2 separate regions of the Homo sapiens genome follow, and region 2 is linked to region 1. The links are contacts of gene promoters, found by promoter capture Hi-C in human tissues and cell types (Jung and others, 2019). All regions are on one chromosome and are shown on one strand. The core of a region is centred on a gene start or on the middle of the fragment in contact, and the rest is flanking DNA. Distances in the headings are between cores, read along the strand shown.

The links. The method cuts DNA at HindIII sites, captures the fragments that hold promoters and counts their contacts. A contact is called where the count stands out against the background at its distance.
Region 2: a contact is called between a fragment that was not itself captured here and the fragment with the promoter of CNTN1 in region 1, in 5 of the 25 tissues and cell types used here (bladder, dorsolateral prefrontal cortex, hippocampus and 2 more).

What each region holds. Positions count from the first base shown.
Region 1 is chr12:40,690,180-40,694,814 of GRCh38, forward strand. It overlaps CNTN1 (contactin 1), which reads left to right and starts at 2,260. Exons shown (of 24, transcript NM_001843.4): 1 at 2,260-2,413. The HindIII fragment of the contact is 18,580 bases long and covers 9-4,635 here.
Region 2 is chr12:40,808,780-40,813,414 of GRCh38, forward strand. All of the region lies in intron 1 of CNTN1 (contactin 1), which reads left to right. Among named protein-coding and RNA genes, the nearest start is that of CNTN1, 120 kb to the left of the region's middle. The HindIII fragment of the contact is 7,484 bases long and covers 1-4,635 here.

The sequences.
Region 1 (4,635 bases), core at 1,010-3,509:
GAATGAATGAGTGAAGCAATGAAAGAACGCAGATAGCAGAGATGTCTTTAGTTTTCTTTTCATTACCAATTTCAATTCTTGTGTTGTCTTCAATATTTAGGTATTTTCTTTGATACTTTTTCTTCTCCTCTGATTACCTCTAGAGGAGAGTATGTTGAAGCTCATTTTGACTCAAAATAATTTATGCTTAGGAATCAAAAGATGTTCGTGTTGCAAACACACATTCCTTAGAAATATTACTATTGTAATTGCTTCCTGAGATCATCTTTAATGTGTCCAATACATTATTCTGCTTTAGTTCTGTAGCACCTAACACAGGGTATGGCATTGAAAAAGTACTCAGTAATTCATGAATGATTTGGCCAATCCAATGGAATAACTGGTGTGAGTACCTGGGACAGAGGTGCATGACTAATAGGAGTATTGTGTAAGAAATGACACAGGGGTTCTGAAATTTTGCCACGGCATATTTAGTCATTTCCATTCAGTGTTAAGATGGTTGTCACCACACAAATAATATCTATTTGTTCACTGTAAATTTTCTCCAGGGTCCCTTCCCACCTTCAAATGCATTATTTTATTTTATTTTATTATTTTATTTTATTTTATTTTATTTTATTTTATTTTATTTTATTTTATTTTATTTTATTTTATTTTATTTTTTGAGGCGGAGTCTCGCTCTGTCGCCCAGGCTGGAGTGCGGTGGCGCAATCTCCGCTCACTGCAAACTCCGCCTCCTGGGTTCACGCCATTCTCCTGCCTCAGCTTTCTGAGTAGCTGGGACTGCAGGCGCCCAACACCATGCCCGGCTAATTTTTTGTATTTTTTGTATTTTTTTTTTTTTTTTTTTTTTTGAGTAGAGACGAGGTTTCACCGTGTTAGCCAGGATGGTCTCGATCTCCTGACCTTGTGATCCGCCTGCCTCGCCTGCCAAAGTGCTGGGATTACAGGCATGAGCCACCTCGCCCGGCCCCCACCTTCAAATGCATTAATCGGATTCCTTCAGTATTATGAAGAAAACATTATGAAGAGCCTTACCTGATGATAGTAATAACAACCGTAACCACTAAGTAGAGTCTATATTTATTAATAGCAATGTCATCTTCTCTAACAGTTGTCCAGTGTCCCAAGCCTGTCATAAGCTCTTTGAAGCTCTGTGAGAATGAGAGTTGTGTCTTATGCTCAGCACTTAAGATGGCTACTTAATTCAGATAGAAGAAGAATGTGGCTATTTGCAGGCAGAAGGCAACTTGATTCCTCACATGGTACTATATACTAAGACACCCTACACTCCCAGTTTTACACGTGGTAGTTCTAGCACGTTCCTTCATTTAAGGAGTCTCTTGAATTCCAAAATTTCCAGATTCCACCTGAATAAATGGCAGAGATGGCAACTGGACACAAAGTTATTTTACCCTGTTCCCTTCACATAAAAGGCAGGCTTGGGATCACTTAGGTTTGGGGGCATAAACATCCTCTCAGTGTCTGAGTACTAAAGAAATGATAAACTACTATCAATAGAAAAGTAACAGATCACTTAATTATCAATCAGTCTAATGGTGATTATTTTAAGACTTTTGCCACAAACTGAACTGCCCCAAAGCAAATCTCTCATGCAGTTTGGCCTTAATTTCTTTTACCCTTTTTTTTTTTTTGAGAGGTTATTATGCAGTGCTTTCCCGTTTAAAACACTGTTTCTACCAGGGAATATTAGGGGGTCTTCTGCATTACAGACTAAGCAATTCCGTCTTTTCTCAAGAAAAACTGCCATGTTACATCTGGACAAAAATGGAAACTTTAAAAAAAAACCTCACATCGTTTTATTTTCCTTTCTGTGTGTGTATTTTTTCCCACATAAGTATCTTATTATTTCCTAATCGAAGCTCATTCTTCTCTATGAGGCGCTGGCTTGGTATTTTCGCCTGACAAATCTCCCGGAGCAGATGGTCCCTTCAGGGAAGCTTCAGGAAAGTGCTGGGTGTCTAGTTATGCCTGGACCCTCCCTCCCTCTTGGGGCCCCAAATGACAAGTCATCAAACCAGTTTCTCTCCAGCAAGGGTCCTTGATCCGGTAGCAGCAGGTTTGGGTTTCAGGCACTGCAGAGACCCTTTGCAGTTGGGTTTAGCAGCTACCCAAGTCTGCAGCCTGCGCTGGTCCTGGGGGTGAGAGTGATATCCCTGTTGTCCAATCAGAGAAGCGGGTTTCCCTGTGGTCCCCGCCCCACTTTCCCTGCTGCCCCAATAACCGCCCTAAAAGGCCGGGCTTCTGCTGTCAAGTAGCCAGGGTGGGCTCCGCCGAGGCGAGGAGGGGCGCCGGTGGGGAGATGCGCTCCCAGGTGTTTGCAGCGGAAGTGGGAAACCTGTAGGGTATGGTCCAGCTGTGCCGCACCGAGGCGAGCAGGAGCAGGGAACAGGTAGGAAGCTGGACTTTTCCTTCTTTGCAGATAAAATAAAGAATGCGCATTTCCATGCTGTTGCTTCCCTTCCCCCAGCCCCGCCCAGCCCTCGTCACCCCCAAATCTCCTGTGGTCCCTGCAGCTCTCGCCGTGCGGCGCGGGAAGGACTGGGGCGGAGGTGGCTGGGGTGCGGGGAAGCAGGGGTGCGGGATGCCGGAGCCCTGGGGTGCCGGGCAAGGCAGGACGGCAGTGCCCTAGAAGAGGGCTCCGAGCTCGGGGTCTGTGTCTCGTCAACTTTCCTTTCGGAGGCTGCCGCCGCCAGCGCCGGGAACTCGCCCCAGGGATGCCATATCGCCTCGGCAGGGGAGGGGTGGGGAAGCAGAGAGGTCGGCAGCCCGGGGCCTGCAGGTCTTTTTCTCCCGACGCCGGCCCGCACCTGCTCATCTTTCCCATCCCACCTGGGCGCCTGGCTAGCGCATCCCGGAAAACCTGGGAGCGGTTGCGGAGAGGGGAGGAAGCGACTTGTTTGTCCCCTGACCCCTCTGTTAAGATCTAGCTCCCTTCAGGAGATGGGGGTGGGGAAGAATCCCTGCAACTCGAAGGGCACGTTCCGATTAATTACGTCTCCGTTGAGAAGGCACCGGCCCTTCTCCACGATCTGCGGCAGGTGGGAGGGAGAGACCGCGGAGCCACGGCCCCTTCCCTCCTAGCCTGGCGCTGTCTACGGGAACCACCTTCACACCTAGTTTCTGAAAGGTGGATTTGGCTTCAGGGATTTCCAGGGAGTCAAGTGATTGTGCCCGGATGGGCTCCGAGCGGCTGCGAGGCTGCCTCCCTAGGTGACCGCATCTGGGTAGTAGGTGTTGGCCCAGTGCCGGTTCCTGCAGGAGTCAGATTGCTGGGAGCAGTAGGCAGAAGAATTGCAGAGAGATCCGACGCTGCATCACCCTCTGGGACTGATGACACCCTGCTTTGAAAATTCCTGAAAAATTGGGATGATGGGAAAGAGGGAAAGCGGATAGCTGCGACCTTTCCTTATTTATTTATTTATTTTCATGCCAAACCGGGCATGGGTATTCGTACGTGTGCTTGTGTGTGCACATCTCCAAGGTGGAGCTATATATAGCTCCTGCATACCCAGCCCGGCTTCCCTGCTGCTGAGCCGGCTGCCTTGGCCTTCTCAAGCAATCTGGAAGCACTGAGTGGGCGGGGCAAAAGGGAATCCAATTCTCCATTGGGGGAAAAGCCGGAGAAGAAGCATTCAGACTGCTGAAACCCTGCGTGAAATAATGTTTTTGTAACTCACGTAAAGATCAATATTTCATATTTCATGTTTTCAATATGTCATATTTCATGTTTTCAATATTTCAGTATTTTGCAAACATTCTTAGAGTGCCAATATAATCTTCATCCATTTCGCCGCATTTTTCGGTTTCTAAGTGTACATATGAACCTTACCAGCCCGAAGTGTAACGCAAATCAAATTAATACATGCCGTATCTGGGATATTTTATTAGACTCGGCATAATGGTTTGGTTATTTGGTAGTAAATTTATTTCAGTGGTAACTTATGGCTAACAGCATTTGGGGATCTGGGAATGGATCCACCCACTTTCCAGGACTAAGGAACTGCTAGAACCCTTGCGGGGGTAGATGTGAGGTATTTCTTTGTACAGATTTTACATGTGGACCTGATATTTAAATTTGTACTGCTTTTTCATATCACATCTATTTGTACTATGTGAACTTTCTTTTATAGATTGATGTATGTGCATTTATCTTTGCCATTCCCTGAAATTACTTATTCCTGATGACAACCTTTCCATTTTCACAGATGAAGAAACTAAGATTCAGAAGACACAAGTGATTGGTTGAAAGTCTTCTGAAAACTTTAATATTCCAACAACCTGCCGTGTAATTATACTGCATAGCAGTTTCCCCTCAAATAGAATACTTTTTAGCTTCCCAGGATTTTTGGTCCTGGCAACAAAATGTGGTTAATGTTGATACCAGGAACAATATAAACCAAGTTTATTCGGTTCTAGTCTGACATGTATCCCTACAAAATTTAATTCTGTGTTTTAAGAACAAAATTCTAACTTGCCAAGTCATTTTGAAGATAAATTATTTAATCTACCAAGTTACCATCATAGGCAGTGCGAGCTGGCTTTTAATTTTGCTCTGCAACTTCCTGATGATCTGATTTGGAGCAAGATAATTAAACTCTGAGAATCTGTTTT
Region 2 (4,635 bases), core at 1,323-3,822, 120 kb after region 1:
AAAGAAAGAGCTCAAGTCAAGGTTAGCCAATAAAAACAAACGAACAAATAAACAAACAAACAAAAACCTAGGTATTATTCTTTGAATTCATACATCTGCATGGTCCAAACTGGTTTTTCTTTCACTTCCATTCCCTTGTTTTTCTCTGTGCATGTAATTTAGATTATTTTTCAAACATAATTATTACTGGATCATATAGTGGTCACTCTAGTCAAGAATTTTGCATCTGACGATTTTTCACCAAGAAGGCAGTCTAGATCATGTGTTATTCACATAAATTAGGAATTTTATTACCTACTTTAAATCAATTATTTCTAATTGAAATATTGTGTATTTCTATATAAAGTAACACTTTGTTCAGAAAGATCCCTACAACCATTCCCTAGAACTAAAATATTAGTTGTATTTTCAAGATATTTTTATGACTTCCTCTTTAATTTCATAGGACAGATGTCTGTGATAAAATCTTTTCCAGGAAATTACAGCTGCTAGTTTCAAGATAAAACTCCTTATGAAGAAGCAAAGTTGATTGATTACCTTATGCAATAACTCCACAAAATGAATGTTTTACAAAATAACTTGCTGGTACATTAATATCCTTCTCTGGGGGTTAGTTTGGGGCAGGAAATAAAATGTGTCCCAAAGTATGCATATCAAAAGGAACTTATACAAAATCATCTTATTAAATGAATCAACAAATTTTATATCTTGAACCTATAGTCAAGTAAGAATGGAAAGAATATATATATATAAAACATTTATTGGCCGGGCACAGTGGCTCACGCCTGTAAGCCCAGCACTTTGGGAGGCCAAGGCAGGCGGATCACGAGGTCAGGAGTTCAAGATCAGCCTGACCAGCATGACCTGTCTCTACTAAAAATATAAAATTAGCCAGGTGTGGTGGTGCACGCCTGTAATCCCAGCTACTCAGGAGGCTGAGGCAGGAGAATTGCTTGAACCCGGGGGGCAGAGGTTGCAGTGAGCCGAGATTGTGCCACTGCACTCCAGCCTGGGCAACAGAGTGAGACTCTGTCTCACACACACACACACACACACACACACACACACACAAAAGTCAAAACTCATTTGTAAATGACTCTATATATTTGGAGAATTTTACAACTCTACAGATTGTTTTTAATAAAAATCAGGTGACACTAATCTCTATTGTTAGTCGTCAGGATAGTGGCTATCTTTGGGGCTGGTAGAGGATGGATCAGTGTGCATTATTAGTGTGAACAATATATACTTGTATGCTGTAATCATGGTATGGTTATTTTAAAAAATATATGCAAAAGTTTTTAGATAAGTACCTTTTTAATGATAATGAGGCTGAAAGTCCATAAATGAAGCCTGTATTTTAAATCAAGTATTGTAGCGAATTTTGTTTGGGGCATTTATTCATTCATGCATTCCTATAATAAGCCCTCTTTTATATTCTTCAGCTTTGTTGAGGTATACTTGACAAATAAAAATTTTATGTATTAAAGGTGTATATGAGTCACAAAGTGATGTTTTGATATCTATATACAAATTGCTAAATGATTTCCACAATAAAGTTTGTTAACATAGCCATCATCTCACATAGCTACCTTTTGTCCTTTTTGTGCTGACAATACTTAAGATCTACTTTCTAAGAGAATTTCAAGTGTATAATATGGCATTATTAACTATAGTCACCATGTTTTACGTGAGGTCTCTAGAACTTATTCATCTTACAACTGCCACGTTTGTACCCTTTGACCAACATCTCCCCATTTCCACCACACCCTAACATCTAGTACCTAACCTTCTATTCTGTTTCTATGAGATTGATTTTTTTTTTTTTTAGATTTCACATATAAGTGAGATTACATAGTATTTATCTTTCTGTGTATGACACTTCAGTTAGCATAATGTTCTCCAGGTTCATCCTAGTTGTTGCAAATGACAGGATTTCCTTCCTTTTAAAAATTGAGCTGGAATAGTGGCTCATGCCTATAATTTCAGACCTTTGGGAGGCTAAGACTGCAGGATTGCTTGAGGGCAAGAGTTTGAAACCAGCTAGGCAACATAGTAAGACCTCATATCTACCAAATATAAATAAATAAATAAAGTAGCTAGGCATGGTGGTACATGACTGCTGAGGCAGGAAGATCACTTGACCCCAGAAGTTTGAGGTTACAATCAGCTACAACCATGGCACTGTACTCCAGCCTGGGTGACAGAATGAAAGCCTGTCTCTAAAAATAAATAACAAATAAAAATTGATTAATATTTAATTGCGTGTACATCAAATTTCTTTATCCGTTCATTCATCAATGGACACTTAGGTTGTGTTCATTACTTGGTTATTGAGAATAATGCTGCAGTGAACATGGAAGTACAGATATTTCTTCAAGACAGTGATTAAATTTTCTTTGGATATACACCCTGAAATCGGATTGCTTGATAATATGGTCATTCTGTTTTTAATTTTTTTAGTATCATCCATAATGTATTACATAACCCTTTGCTGGTATTTTATACAGGCAACACAATATGCCTTTTGAAAACACTGAGTTGAGGATATTTGCATCTATGTTTATCAGAATTGGCCTGTAATTTTCTTTTCTTGTAGTGTGTTTATCTGGCTTTGGTATAAGGATAAAGCTGGCCTCATTAAAATGAGTTTGAAAATGTTCACTTCTCTATAATTTTTCAAGCTGTTTGAGAAAGATTGGTGTAAATTCTTTTCTAAATGTTTGGTAGAATTCACCAGTAAAGTCATCCATTTCTGGGCTTTTTTTGATAGAAGATTTTTGATAACTGATTAGATTGCCTTACTTGTATTTGTCTGTTTAGATTTTCTATTTCATAATTCAATCTTGATAGGTTGTATGCTTCTAGGAATTTATTGATTTCTTCTAGATTATCCAATTTGTTTGGATATAATTGTTCATAGTAGCCTCTTAGAATCCTTTGTGTTTTGTAATATCACCTGTTATATCCTTTTTCATTTCTCATTTTATTTGAGTCTTTTCTCCTTTTTCCTTCGTCTCACTGAAGGTTTGTTAACTTTATCTTTTCAAAAAAAAAAAAACTCTTAGTGTCATTGACATTTTCTATTGTTTTTCCATTTTCTATTTCACTTATTTCTGCTCTGATTTTGTTATTTTGTTTCTTCTACTAATTTTAGTCTTAGTTTGTTCTTCTTTTTCTCATTCCTTGAGATGTAATGTTAGGTTGTTTATGTGAGATCTTTCTTTTTTTTTTAATGTAGACATTTATTGCCATAACTGTCTCCTTAGAACTGCTTTTGCTGCATCCCTTAAATTTCGGTATGTTGTGTTTTCATTTTTGTTTGTCTTAAGATATTTTCAAAGTTATCTTTTGATTTCTTTGACTCATTGGTTATTCAGGAGCATATTGTTTAATTTCCACATGTTTGTGAATTTTCCAGTCTTTCTGTTATTATTGACTTCTAGATTTGATTATAAAAGATACTTAATATGATTTCAAGCTTCTTAAATTTGCTAAGACTGATTTTGTGGCCCAATGTTTGATCTATCCTAGAGAATGCTGTGTGTACACTTGAGAAGAATATGTATTCTGCTGCTGTTGGATGGAATGTTCTGTGTATGTCTTGTGTTCACTTTGTCTATAGGTTATTTAAGAAACCTATAGACAATGTTTCTGTTTATGTCTGCTGTTTTCTTACTGATTTTCTGTCTGGATGATTTATCCATTGTTGAAAATGGGGTATTGAAGCCCCTAATACTATTGTATTTGTGTTGATTTCTCCCATCAGTTCTGTTAATATTTGTTTTATATATTTAGCTGCTATAGTATTGGGTGCATATATATTTACAATGGTTATATCTTGATGAATTCACTCTTTTATCATGATATAATGACCTTTGTCTCTTACGACAGTATTTTACTTAAAGTCTATTTTGTAAAAGACCATTTTGTATATTTAGGGTTCCATTTGCATGGAATATCTTCTTACATCCCTTCACTTTGTATGTGCCCTTAAAGCTCTAGTGAGTCTCTTGTAGGTAGCATCTAGTTAGGTCTTATTTTTCTGTTCATTTGTCTGTTTTAATCCATTAAGCTACTCTGTATCTTTTGTTGAGAGAATTTAATCCATTTGCATTCAAGGTAATTATTTTAGGTAAGGACTTAATACTGCCAGTTTGTTAATTTTTTTTTTTTTTTTGGTTGTTTTGAAAATCAATTCCTTCCTTCCTTCCATCCTTTTTCCTTCCTTCCATCCTTTCTTTCTTTCTCTTTCTTTCCTTTCTTTCTTTCTTTCTTTCTTCCTTCCTTCCTTCCTTCCTTCCTTCCTTTCTTTCTCTTTCTTTTTTTCTTTCTTTCTTTCCTTCTTTCTTTCTTTCTTTTTCTTTCTGCCTTCCCCTCCTTTCTTTTCATTTTTTGCTGTCTCCATTTTTGACACAATAATTTCAGTTTTTTCTTATTTGCTTCTAAAAAGAAAAAAAAAAAACAGGATTCATGTGCAGAACATGCAGATTTGTTACATAAGTATACATGTGTCATGGTGGTTTGCTACACCTATTGACCCATCCTCTAAGTTCCCTCCCCTCAACCCCCAACCCACAACAGGCCAGGGTATGTGTTGTTCCCCTCTTTGTGTCCACGTGTTCTCAATGTTCA